Linked DNA regions of Homo sapiens: regions 1, 2 and 3 are each linked to region 4. Evidence: promoter capture Hi-C in 16 types of primary human blood cells and fetal thymus (Javierre and others, 2016). All regions are on one chromosome and are shown on one strand. The core of a region is centred on a gene start or on the middle of the fragment in contact, and the rest is flanking DNA. Distances in the headings are between cores, read along the strand shown. Region 1 has its middle 100 kb from the start of RPAP3. Region 2 overlaps RPAP3 (RNA polymerase II associated protein 3). Region 3 overlaps RPAP3 (RNA polymerase II associated protein 3). Region 4 holds the start of PCED1B (PC-esterase domain containing 1B).

Evidence for each region. Contacts are between HindIII fragments. The CHiCAGO score rates a contact against its expected background, and 5 or more counts as called.
Region 1: a fragment that was not itself captured here is called in contact with the fragment with the promoter of PCED1B in region 4 in 1 of 17 cell types (M1 macrophages); the score reaches 5.9 in M1 macrophages.
Region 2: a fragment that was not itself captured here is called in contact with the fragment with the promoter of PCED1B in region 4 in 1 of 17 cell types (activated CD4 T cells); the score reaches 5.1 in activated CD4 T cells.
Region 3: a contact is called between a fragment that was not itself captured here and the fragment with the promoter of PCED1B in region 4, in 7 of 17 cell types (activated CD4 T cells, M0 macrophages, total CD4 T cells and 4 more). The highest score is 7.6, in activated CD4 T cells.

What each region holds. Positions count from the first base shown.
Region 1 is chr12:47,599,533-47,602,544 of GRCh38, reverse strand. No RefSeq gene overlaps it. Among named protein-coding and RNA genes, the nearest start is that of RPAP3, 100 kb to the left of the region's middle. The HindIII fragment of the contact is 1,428 bases long and covers 773-2,200 here.
Region 2 is chr12:47,658,273-47,661,588 of GRCh38, reverse strand. It overlaps RPAP3 (RNA polymerase II associated protein 3), which reads left to right. Exons shown (of 17, transcript NM_024604.3): 17 at 1-340. Among named protein-coding and RNA genes, the nearest start is that of RPAP3, 46 kb to the left of the region's middle. The HindIII fragment of the contact is 1,767 bases long and covers 410-2,176 here.
Region 3 is chr12:47,681,654-47,684,760 of GRCh38, reverse strand. It overlaps RPAP3 (RNA polymerase II associated protein 3), which reads left to right. Exons shown (of 17, transcript NM_024604.3): 10 at 2,944-3,065. Among named protein-coding and RNA genes, the nearest start is that of RPAP3, 23 kb to the left of the region's middle. The HindIII fragment of the contact is 2,548 bases long and covers 314-2,861 here.
Region 4 is chr12:47,078,226-47,081,195 of GRCh38, reverse strand. PCED1B (PC-esterase domain containing 1B) reads right to left here and starts at 1,575. Exons shown (of 4, transcript NM_138371.3): 1 at 1,471-1,575. It overlaps AMIGO2 (adhesion molecule with Ig like domain 2), which reads left to right and starts at 1,237. Exons shown (of 3, transcript NM_001370299.1): 1 at 1,237-1,734; 2 at 1,948-2,054; 3 at 2,131-2,970. The coding sequence starts at 2,194. The HindIII fragment of the contact is 11,510 bases long and covers 1-2,970 here.

The DNA.
Region 1 (3,012 bases), core at 237-2,736, 520 kb before region 4:
CCTGTGAGCAGCACCAGAAAATGTCTCTGTGAAAGGAGCTGGACTCCTACACTTGCTCACTGGCTAAAGAAGGGGATCAGACACTCTGGAGACTGACTCATTTTCTTAGTGAAGCCAACTAAAGCTAGGCAGAGATCAGAAGCTGGAAATAAACAGCCCTTCAAAGTTCATGGCATCCAAGAAAGAAAAATCATTTCCTTTCTGCTGTGTGTGTTTTTACAGAGAAGTGACATGCTAGATTTCAGTATAATTTTTTTTTTTTTTTTTGAGATGGAGTCTCACTCTGTCGCCCAGGCTGGAGTGCAGTAGCGCAATCTCGGCTCACTGCAACCTCCGCCTCCTGGGTTGATGCCATCTCCTGCCTCAGCCTCCCGAGTAGCTGGGACTACAGGCGTCCGCCACCACACCCGGCTAATTTTTTGTATTTTTGGTAGAGACGGGGTTTCACCGTGTTAGCCAGGATGGTCTTGATCTCCTGACCTCATGATCCGCCCGCCTCGGCCTCCCAAAGTGCTGGGATTACAGGCGTGAGCCACCATGCCCGGCAGATTTCAGTATAAATTTAACACTGGGGTTATTGATCAATTGCTTATTCATTTATTCAAACACATACTTATTGAATATCTATATTGGTATCTGTATTGGCACACACATATTGAGTATGTGCCAGAAACTAGGCTTGATCCTAAGGATTGGAAAATGAATAAGGCGTAGTGTTTTATCTTCCTAGGTGCAAAACCCCAGTAAGTATAATTATCTAAACAAGTAAGCTTAATATGGCAAGATATGTGCTCATAGAGGTATGTACAAAATGCTAGGGAAATCGTACTAAGCCCAGCTGGATACTGTTGGGGAAGATTTCGTAGAGGAGATAATATTTGAGTATATTAGACTTATCTTCCAATGTCTATCTAAACTCCAGTGAAAACCAATAAACCCAATATTTATTAATTGTGTTCCTTCTTAGCTACCAAAACCATAGAATACAATGAACCAGGTTTCAAACCTGGCACCCATCAGACACTTGTGGGGAGGAAACAACATTTCTGGGGAGTGACAAAATTTCTGTGACCTTCAAACATATCAGAAGACTGTCAACCACACTAACAGTAAAATAAATTTAAATTACCTGTCAGATTGGCAAAAATCTAAACCCATTCTATTTGTGGGGTTGTGGAAATGCAAACTGCTACTCTGCAGGAGAATGTGGCAATATCATAAATTAAAAAATCACCTACTTTTTGACCCAGCAATTCCACTCCTAGAGATGTATTCTAGACATATACCTGAATAAGTACAAAATGACTCATGCACAAAGGTCATTCAGTGTGGCTTTTATTTTTAAATAGGAAAAAATTGGAAATATGTCAAATGAGCATCATTTGAGGGCATGGAGCACTATGCAACCATAAAAGAGAGTGAGGAAGATCTCCACATGTACTCATGTGAAATGTTATCCAGAATATATTGTTACATGTGAAAAAAATTAAAAGGAGGTTGCAGAACATCCTAGGTTTGCATAAGAAGGGAGGAAATAAGAATTTATGTATATTTTTCTTAAATTTGCTCTGCCAATCACTGAAAGGTTAAATCAGAAACTAATAAAAATAGCTAATAAAGCTATCTAAAACTTAAAAAATACCTTTTATTTTAAAATAATCTCAAATTTAAAGAAAAGTTACAAGTCTGGTACAAATACCTCTTTTTCACCATCATTTTGAGTAAATTGCTGAAATGGTGATCCTTCCAACACCAAAATGTTTAATGTGCCTTTTTCGGGGACACAGTATGCTCATTACATCAGGGAATTAACATCAAAACATGACTGCCATCGAATCCCTAGACCCCATCCAGTTTCAGCACTTGTGCCTGTATTGTCCTTTAGTGCAAAAGGATCACGTTGAGCATCACACACTGCATTTAGAGTCCAGTTTCTTTAGTCTTCTAACATCTGGATCAGTTCTTCAGTCTTCACTTTCATGACACTTTGAAGATTTTGAAGATTACAGGCCAGTTATGTTGAAGAGTTTCCTATTTCCTCATGATTACATTTGGGCTGTACATTTTTGGCAGGAATATCACAGAAATGATGTGTGTTCTTATTGCACCTTATCAGGTGGTGCATAATTTTGGGTTGTTCTATTACTGATCATGTTGAGCTTGATCACTTGGAGGAGTCCTCCTCCACTGGAGTTAAGCTTTTTCTCCTTTGTAATTAATATACATTTGCAGGAAGGTGCTTTTACGCCATGTAAATACAGTATCTTGTTCCTCAACAAACTTTTTATTGATTAATTAATGAATATCATGATTTCCTATTGTATTCATGGGTTATAATGTCACTATCTGATCTAGTTTGGATACTTGTCCCCACCCAAATCTCATGTTGAACTGTAATCCCCAGTGTTGGAGGTGGGGCCTGGCGGGAGGTGTTTGGGCCATGGGAGTGGATTCCTCATGAATGGCTTGGACCATCCCCTTGGTGATAAGTGAGCTCTCACTCTCAGTTCACGTGGGATCTGGTCATTTAAAAGTGTGTGGCATTTCCCCTGCCCATCTTTCACTTGCTTTCATCACCATGGGATATGCCTGTTTGTCCTTCACCTTCCACCAGGATTGAAAGCTCCCTGAGGATTCACCAAAGGCTGAGCAGATGCCAGCACCATGTATCTTGTGATATTAGATAGAAAGCAGAGGAATCAGGCTAAACTCTGTTTTTGAAATATGTGCATATATATAGAAATAAATGTAGATGTAAATTTATGTACACACAAACACATATAGATATTCATCTGTCCACTGAGACAGCATGAGTGCAGTGACACCCCAATAGTAATGAGCATACCTATCACTTAAATCTTAGTTTCTAAACACCATTCTCCACTAAAAGGAACCAGGTGTCTTTGTAGAAATGACTGATTCCAGGGCTAAGGCAGAGGAAGTACAGCATTAGTTTAGAGCATCTTGTACCAAAAAAATAAGGAAGTACTCCAAGAATAATGAAATCATCTC
Region 2 (3,316 bases), core at 44-2,543, 580 kb before region 4:
AGAGACATTTTCATGTAGTGATTTAAGACCAGAGGCTCTGGATTCAGACTTCTTGAGTTTGAATTCTGGCTCCATCTGGCTTTAGGGCCTTGGACAAGTTACTTTTCTATTCTTTGTTTTTGAAATCTGTAGAATGGGTATAAGTGAGATTGAATGAATGCACACATTTTGTTTTTGGAGCAGGGCTGGATGTATAGTAAGCTACTGTTACTATTATTATTACAATTACCAACATTTCCTAAAAGTGATTAGAATAAAGAACAGTCTTTAGGGGCTGTCATATTGTTGCCTTATTGCAAAATAGCATAGTGGTTAATAAAGTCATTTTTGGGTCAAATAACCTGCGTATACAACCTATTGCACTCAACTAGCTTGTGAATTTGGACATACTGCTTAGCACCTCTAAGCTTCCGTTTCCTCTCATATAAAATAGAATATTAGTAAATGCCTACCTCAAAGATTTTTAGAAAGGCTAATACTTATAAGTATTAGCACATTAATGCCTGTCACATAGTGCTCAGTCATTTTTATTAATAATAGTAATATTATTGCCTTAAAGGTATAAAAGCAGTATTTTCCCAAGTGGTTTCTTTCTGGAAATGTAGTTATTTACTGTTAATTGTATCTTTTGACTTGATAGCAACATTTACATCATAATTATTCTTGAATTGTTGGCAGAAGCACCATGCCCGTCATTTATTGGCTGCCTCCGACTCTGGTTTTAGTTACACTCAATTTAATAAATTGATGGGGCATATCCAAGTCCTCACCATTTTAACAATTTGTGCTAACGCATTTGAAAAAAATTTTACTTCCAACCTCTAAATCCATTATCTCTGTTAACAGGAGGCATTTCTGAACACAGTACCAAGGCTCATTTTACCTTTTTACAATGCTTTCTTAATGTTTGACCTTTATCAGAGTTATGTTTAAAGAAACATTAAAAATTTAATGTTAATGAAACTTGTTTGATTCATTCATTTAATTAATTTAACAAATATTTGTTGAATCTACATATAATGCCAGGCACTGCTAGGCACTGAAAATACAAAAATGAACAAAGTAAACATGGATTCTTTCCTCACAAAACTTACAACGAAGTGGGAGGTGGAATGGGATGGTGGGGATACAAATAAAGAGGTACAGCGTAATAAATGCTAAACAGGTAATACTAAGGGATCATGGGAAATACCAGGAATAGCAGATGCAAAAGACAAGACAAGTTTGAGAAAACTTAAGTTTAATTTTTAGCACAGAGTGGGAACTGGATTGTGGTAAGAAATGAGGCTGGTGAAGACAGAAGGGTTGAGATTCTAGAGGACATTTGAACTTCATCCTGAGGGTACTGTGGAACTAGTGATAGTTTATATAGGAGGGTGATTCTGAAATTTGTATTTTATAAAATTTACTTTGGCTACTATGGGAAGAACAGTTGCCTGGGGACATTAGAGACAGGGGAACTTGTCAGAGGACTTGGGGTACCTAAGGCAAGAGATTATGGTATCCTGAACAAGAGTACTAGCCGTGAGGATGGAGAGAAGTGACCAGAATGGAGAAATATTTGGGAAGTAGAATGGGCAAGATTTGGCAGTAGATTCAGGGCCCCCACATTCAGGGCTTAACTCCAAGGAGCACCCTTTACATTGTGGTCTGCGTGAATGGCATCCCTGGAACATAATGTGAATGCTTCCTAACTTGTACAATTTGGTGATCCTGTGTGGGCTGGGAAGCAAGTTGAGAAGCAGAAGGAAGCATTAATGGTCATGCCCAGATTTTTTTCCCCTAGGGCAGTGCTTTCATTCACTAAAATATAAACCACAGCGGGTGACACCATATGTGGAACTGGAAGGTTTGGTTGAGTGGCTGAGAGAAAGGTCCAATTTGGGATCTGTTGGATTTGTGATCCCTTTGGTCATTGAAATAGATTAGGGATGGTGATTTGGGTTTGGACATTAAAAAGCATTTAGGTGAAGTCTCAGGATTAGATGAGATTACTTGGAAGTATAGAATCAGGAGAAAAGGGTGACTGGGTAAGTGGAACAGAACTAACAACCACATTTAACAGATTGGAAAAGGAGCACATAAAGCAGACTAGGGAGAGTGGGCACAGAGAGGGTGACGTTGGCAAAAAGCACGTGATGGAATTAAGTTTTTTGTTATTGATAATTTAAAAGCTTTGTCTTCATAGCTAATTATTGGTTCTGTCATGTAAGTTTTTAGGATTGTTGCCAAGTTTGAGAAAATCTCTACCGTGTTTCTTTTGTATTTGAGCCATATGATTCTGGGGTTTATATGAGTATATATTTCTGGTAAGGCAGAACTCCCATTTTGACCAGGCATCCATGAAGCATCCTGTTACAATACATGTCTGAAGACTGAGAAGTATCTCCACAGATTAGCTTTGGGATCCATACATTACAAATCTTGTCCACCACTGCACATGCACTTCTGGGGCTGGTTACTGTCTAATGCATTTATATCATGGTTCAACTTCTGGCCTAAAACTGGAAAAGTTGATGGCATGGACAGTAGTAGGAGTATCGCTAAAATCTTCCTATACTGAGATGGCGAGCAGTAATTCAACCTGGTACAAAAATGACTGCAGACCATGTAAATATATTCTGTAACACTCAGCTACTTCATAGTCTAGATCTCAAAACACTAGGTGCAGGGAAGTTAGAGTAGAAAGGGACAGCAGTCTAGATTGATTGTGGTTAAAATATATTAGTTTTGAAATTTAGTTTGAAAATGTAGTTTGCAAAAACATAGTCATGTAAACACTTCCCTATAGCCCCTCTCAGGGTGGAAGTGGCCTGTACAAGTGAGAGTTCCTGGGGCTTAAGCCTTTGTTAACTTCAGGGTAAATCAGCTGTTTTCTCAGTCCATAACCCTGAGGCCTATGAGTATTTAGCAAGCATCTCTTCTTTTGCAACACCAGAGGTTTTGGATGCACAGTCTATACATCTCAACTATCAAATTTGTGAACAACTGAAGGCTTATGCCTTTTTAGGGCTTGATCTGTCTGGTATCGATTTTTCATTTTAGGTATGAATTACAAGAGCTAGCACTGAAGAGGTTATTTTAGAGTGTGGGCCTTGAGCCCATGCCCTTCTATCTTTTCTATTATCTTGTATCCTGATGTCCTCTATTTTCTGAGGCTCCTCCCCTGACTACAAGCAAGTCTGGATTTCCCTGCTTAGAGGAATGGTCCTTTGACCCTGTCCATGTCCTCTCTCTCTTCTGGCTATCCCCAGTAGTTCTGTGATGGTAAAATTAGTCATTTTCCCCTTAGTTCTTACTGTCCTTGACCCCCTGT
Region 3 (3,107 bases), core at 338-2,837, 600 kb before region 4:
GCCTGAGTTCGTTGGTTTGACTAATGCTAAGAGTAATGCCTTCTTACAGGTGAGAGATTATATATGCATTTATAAGATATCTAATTTATTGTATCAGTTTTATTTCTTTAGTTTATAATCGTATTAGTGGAATATATTATACCAAGTTAGCAGAGTATATTTTAAATTAAAAGAACTTATGACTCTTACTTGTATCTTTTCCTAGTGTATCTTTTAGATTCACAGTTAATATCAGAATTTTTTTCTGTACATGGAGACTGTTGTTATGTATTACGGACTATGTGAGGAACATAAAAAAGCAACATTTCAAGCTTAGACTACTCCTAGTTTAGGTAACCATCCTATAGCTTGAGGTTCTATAAACTGTGTCAAATTAGAGCTAATTAGAACCAGCAGTATAGTCAGTCTTACCTACCAGTGTGCGGGGTAGCAGTAGGGAGTAAGAAGAAATTCACCTAGTTAGGCCAACCGGGATTCCTAGAGAATGTGCTTTCTGGAGGTGATAGTCTAAATTAGTAGTTTGCATTGGGAGATGAGCAAGACATCCTTGAGTTACAATAATGGAGTGCCTGTGAGCTGGCAAATTGTGGAATGTAGGCTGGTAGATGGTTAGCTTCAGAAAGGCTGAAGAAATAAGAAGATAATCAGAAATAAGGACAGAAGTTTGGGCCAACATTGTAGTCCTTGAAGAGGACTGACCAAGAACAAATCTGAGTCCTATTCTTAGAGGGAGTAAAGCATAGATTTAGAGATAGGATAAGAAGAAAATAACCCAGTAGTATTAGATATTAGATTTGGGAAACAGGGTTGAGAGTTGGTCACAAAAATAAGGTAGAATCTTGGTTGCTGGAACTGGAACCAGACTAAGACTTGATTTAGTAGAGGGTGGTTCACTTAATGGTGATTAGGGGCGGCATTTACACTAGAGCCAGAGTAGACCTAGGGCAAGTGGACCTGACTGAAAATCAGAAGGAATCAGGGCTAAGGAGCTAGGCAGAGATGATAGTTTTTCGCACTCACCATTTTTATTCTATTTTTGATTAGTTTGTCTTTTTCTCCAACCACCTAAAAGATGTTTGTTGATTGGATTTTTCTAAATTCACTTTACAAATGGAGTGCACAGGAGACGTGTAATAATTTTAAAGGACTTAGGTGAGTCTATTTTCAAAGAATAATCGTCTACCTCTGTGGCAACTTCAGACTTTTAGAAAAATTGTTGGGTTTTCTTCAGCTGTACAGTAGAACATGCAATTAAATATGCAATTAAATATACAATTAAAATGATTTCCTAAACATTTATATTCTAAATTTTCTTTGAATTTGGGTGTTGGAAATTTTTTGATTTACTTATTCAGCAAATATTTATTGTGCTAAAATGTATCAGGTGTTCTGTGAGGCACTGTGGAAGGTATTAAGTATACAAATATTAAATGTATAGTTGTTTTTAAGAAACCCGAAATTTGCAGGGAGTGACAGAAAAGGAGACCAATATTTGTGAAAATACGCTAAGATAGCGCTATGAAGGACACGTGCTATAGGAGTTCAGAGTGGGAAGAATACTGGCATAGACTGAGTCCAGGCAGGGGAATTCCTGGAAAGCATCTTGAAATTGTTTAGGAGTAGTATGAGTTAGTGAGGTGAAAAAACAGGAAACAGGTCAAGTGTTCTAGTGCAGGTTCAAAGACGTGGGAGTAGGCAGGTTGATGGTACCTCAACCTGGAAAGGGTGAGTGGTTCGTATTATGGCTGTTATTGCAGGGGACAGTGGCAGAGAGAAGGCCAGATACTCAGGCAGGCCCCTGACTTTGCGCTCCAAAGGAATTGGACTTTATCTTGAAAAGTATGGGGGCCATGCAGGTATCTTGAATGATATAATCAGGCAAGTAGAAAATAACATTGATAAGGGCATGAACACAGATATATTCTTTATCTCTTGCTGGAAAGTGAGTTAAATAAATCAGAGATGTTTAAGTTCATTCGAAATTCTGATTTTTTTCATATGAGATTTTGTTTTGAGGGCAAGATGACATCCATTTAGGCCTTGGGGAGAATGCAATTACAGGAGTGTTTTTTTTTTTTTTAATATTCTTATGAAACTTTTCAAACTTATACAAAAGTAGTATAATAAACTCCATGTGTCCATCATCTAGTTCTAACAAGCCATACTTTTTTTGGTCATATTTGTTTCAGCATTTTCCCCCCGAATTATTGTAAAGCAAATCATAAACATTATGACGTTTATTGCTAAAGAAAGGATATTTTATACATAACCACAACCATTAGCACTCCTAAGAAATTAACAATAATTCATTAATGTCCTATTAATATATGGGAATGTCTGAAGTTTTTTTGTTATTGGGTTTTTTTGGTGGAGGGGGTTGAGCTCTTCTTAAGCACCTTGTTGTTGTAGAGCAGTAATGAGTAAGTCTGTAAGTCTGAATTGATTGCTGGTTGCATGGCTGAGTAGAATTTATGCAAAGTATTAGATGATATGCTATCACATTCGTACCAAGTTCTCATTTTTTTGTTTTTCTATGAGTATGGGAGGTTTACTGTGGGTAAATGTTAATAAAGTTTTATTAGAAAACTAATGCCAGTCAAAATTCTAATGTAATACCTGTGCATATTGAGACTTGGAGAAGAGGTAGGCAGAGAAGCAGTGGCATTCTTTTGTCTGCCCTAGTCATATTTTTGCATTATTATTTCATCGCTCCAGCAGACTCTCCTAACATTCCCTCAATCTGGTACCTTCTCCCTCCTCACCAAATGATTCCAGGATTTGGTGAGAATAAAAAATTTATAAAATAGTTCTCCACTTCAAACACAGATTTAGAAGTTAGTGATTGAAATTATATACAAGCTTTTTAAATTAGAAACTTAGTTTATATGACATTTTTCCATAAGCTGCCTTTTTTCCAGTCAGTAATTTTATCATGTTCAATAGATATGAAGAAGCTGAAAAAGACTGCACACAAGCCATTTTATTAGATGGCTCATATTCTAAAGCTTTTGCCAGAAGAGGAACTGCAAGAACATTTTTGGGAAAGCTAAATGAGGCAAAACAAGGTAAGACTTTATAACAGCTGGCACTCAGTCATCCTGATGAGT
Region 4 (2,970 bases), core at 326-2,825:
TTGGCATCTTTTGTCAAGGCAGTAATTTATTTCTTTTAATCCGGATATAATGGCCAAATGGGCGATCTGACTCACTCAAATCCCATCGTTAAAACTTATCTTGGAATTAAACAAAAATGGATTTTTAATCGTAGAGCTCATCAGCCTCATAGTCTCCACCTCATTTCTGAATGGCCTTGTTCGGCTTGCACCTTCTGTGCTTGCTGAACCAAAGCGCGCTGGTCGGCCGCGGCATCTCCGGAAGGGATGAAGAGCCTCCGCGCACACGCCCCTTACTTCCCTGTCCCGCACGCGCCACGAGCACGCTTGCAAAAGACGGGGAGGTGGCGGGGACAGAGACAGAGGAAATGAGAGAGAGAGAACGAAAGAGAAAGGAGAGAGAGGGAGAGAGAGAGGGAGAGAGAAGAGGGGAAGGAGAAGAGAGAAAAAAGAAAAAAAGGTCTGCTCTGGGATTATTATTATTATTTGGGTTAATACTCTTATCTTTGCATTCCAGCCGGAAGGTCGGCTCCAAGCCTTCTTTCCTGCCCTCCTCCTTCTTGAATTGGACACCATCCCTGTTGCCGCCTCCTGAGTCAGGAAAGGGATAGAACTTTCCCAGGGAGGTGAGGGGTGTCCCCGTGGCGATTTCCCGGTTACTTCCTCCCAGCAGATATCCCTGTGGAGAGGAAACGTTCCCGACTTCCCTCCCCGCGACCTCCTCCCTAGAAACGAGCGGAGACGTCAGGCTGCTTCTGGGTTTATTTTGTAAACCCAGACAGTCAACTGCACTTGGCGCAGGCAAAGCCTCCTTGGCCCTTGCCCCAAAGCAAAGCTCTAAGAGGTCCGGGGATTCCTTGGCCTGGGTGGGGAGAGAGACGTGACCTGTGCGGCCGCCGCGAAGTGGGTCTCCAAGGGTGAGACCCCTCCCTCGGTGGCTGGGCGTGTCCCCTTTAGCCTTCCTGGACCCCATTACCGCCCGGCTTGGAGCTGGACGAAGGGACGTAATTGGTAGGCGAGTGGGTTGGGCATCTTGACTCAAGGACCAGAGTCTGGGCCTCTGGTGTGGACCCCTGCCCCCTCCCCGCTCTGCGCGGCCGTTCTAGAGGTCCGGGTGGGAGCTGGAGGAGGAAAGCGGGAGGAGGCGGCGAGGCCGCGGGGCGGTATGAGGGGGCGCCGGCCGCCTCTCGGATTGGCTGCGCCGCCGCCCCCTCCGCATCGCGCGCCCCCCACCACGCGCCCAGCCTGCTCCCTCCCGCAGGCTCCGAGCTGCTGCCCGCAGGAGGCAGGACGCGCAGGGGTGGGACCGGCGCCCCAGCCCGTCTCCCGGCCCCGGGCGCGCGGGAACCCCGGGTCCTGCAGCCTCCCGAGTGCGGAGAGGCGGGGCCGCCCGCTGCCGCCCGGCTGCCTGCGCCCCCTCCCGCGGCCCCGGCTCTGGGAGCGGGGCGCCCCGCGCGCGGGCACACGGCGGCCAGAGCGCCGAGGCGGTACCTTCAGCCTGCAATGAGAGGAACCCGGGAGAGCCCCCGGGAGCCAGCGAAGAGCTTGGCTGCTGCGTCCAGGGCTGCTGCTGCCGCCGCGGCTGCTTGAAACTCCTCAAAGTTGAGAGCCGGCTAGAGGGTGCCGCCCGCCGGGAGCCGGAGGGAAAGGAAGTCGGAAGGTGCAAGAGTGACAGACACGGACAGACGGACGCGCAGACCTTCGGAAGGCACTGCGTAGGCAGCCTCCCCGGAGCCCACGAGGCTCCCCAGCACCGTGAGTTTTTTCCTGGATGGGTGGTTGCTAAGTATTTCCGTTTAATTGTTTGTAGCGTACGTTTGCGTATAGTTGTGTCTGTTGGAGGGAGTTTAAAACAACAACAACAACAACAACAACGCAGGATGCACCTTAGGAAAAAATTGAGTTTCTGATGGTGGGTGAGACGGTGGGTTGTATGGAGAGAATGTGACTGTACATTTTTATAAGCAGGACTAACCCAGGAAAGAGGAAAAAATACATTTAACAGTGAAGAGGCAACACAGAGCTCCCTATTGTGAAATAAAACCCATTTCAAAAGTTATTGGAAAGAAAGTAAGGTATGGCTCTTATGGGTTAACTAGTGGTAGTCAGTTTCTGCTTTTTACTCCCTCTGAATTATTAATTGTTTGCCAGGTTCACTGGTGGGAGGCTGAGCCGGTGGAAAAGACACCGGGAAGAGACTCAGAGGCGACCATAATGTCGTTACGTGTACACACTCTGCCCACCCTGCTTGGAGCCGTCGTCAGACCGGGCTGCAGGGAGCTGCTGTGTTTGCTGATGATCACAGTGACTGTGGGCCCTGGTGCCTCTGGGGTGTGCCCCACCGCTTGCATCTGTGCCACTGACATCGTCAGCTGCACCAACAAAAACCTGTCCAAGGTGCCTGGGAACCTTTTCAGACTGATTAAGAGACTGGACCTGAGTTATAACAGAATTGGGCTTCTGGATTCTGAGTGGATTCCAGTATCGTTTGCAAAGCTGAACACCCTAATTCTTCGTCATAACAACATCACCAGCATTTCCACGGGCAGTTTTTCCACAACTCCAAATTTGAAGTGTCTTGACTTATCGTCCAATAAGCTGAAGACGGTGAAAAATGCTGTATTCCAAGAGTTGAAGGTTCTGGAAGTGCTTCTGCTTTACAACAATCACATATCCTATCTCGATCCTTCAGCGTTTGGAGGGCTCTCCCAGTTGCAGAAACTCTACTTAAGTGGAAATTTTCTCACACAGTTTCCGATGGATTTGTATGTTGGAAGGTTCAAGCTGGCAGAACTGATGTTTTTAGATGTTTCTTATAACCGAATTCCTTCCATGCCAATGCACCACATAAATTTAGTGCCAGGAAAACAGCTGAGAGGCATCTACCTTCATGGAAACCCATTTGTCTGTGACTGTTCCCTGTACTCCTTGCTGGTCTTTTGGTATCGTAGGCACTTTAGCTCAGTGATGGATTTTAAGAACGATTACACC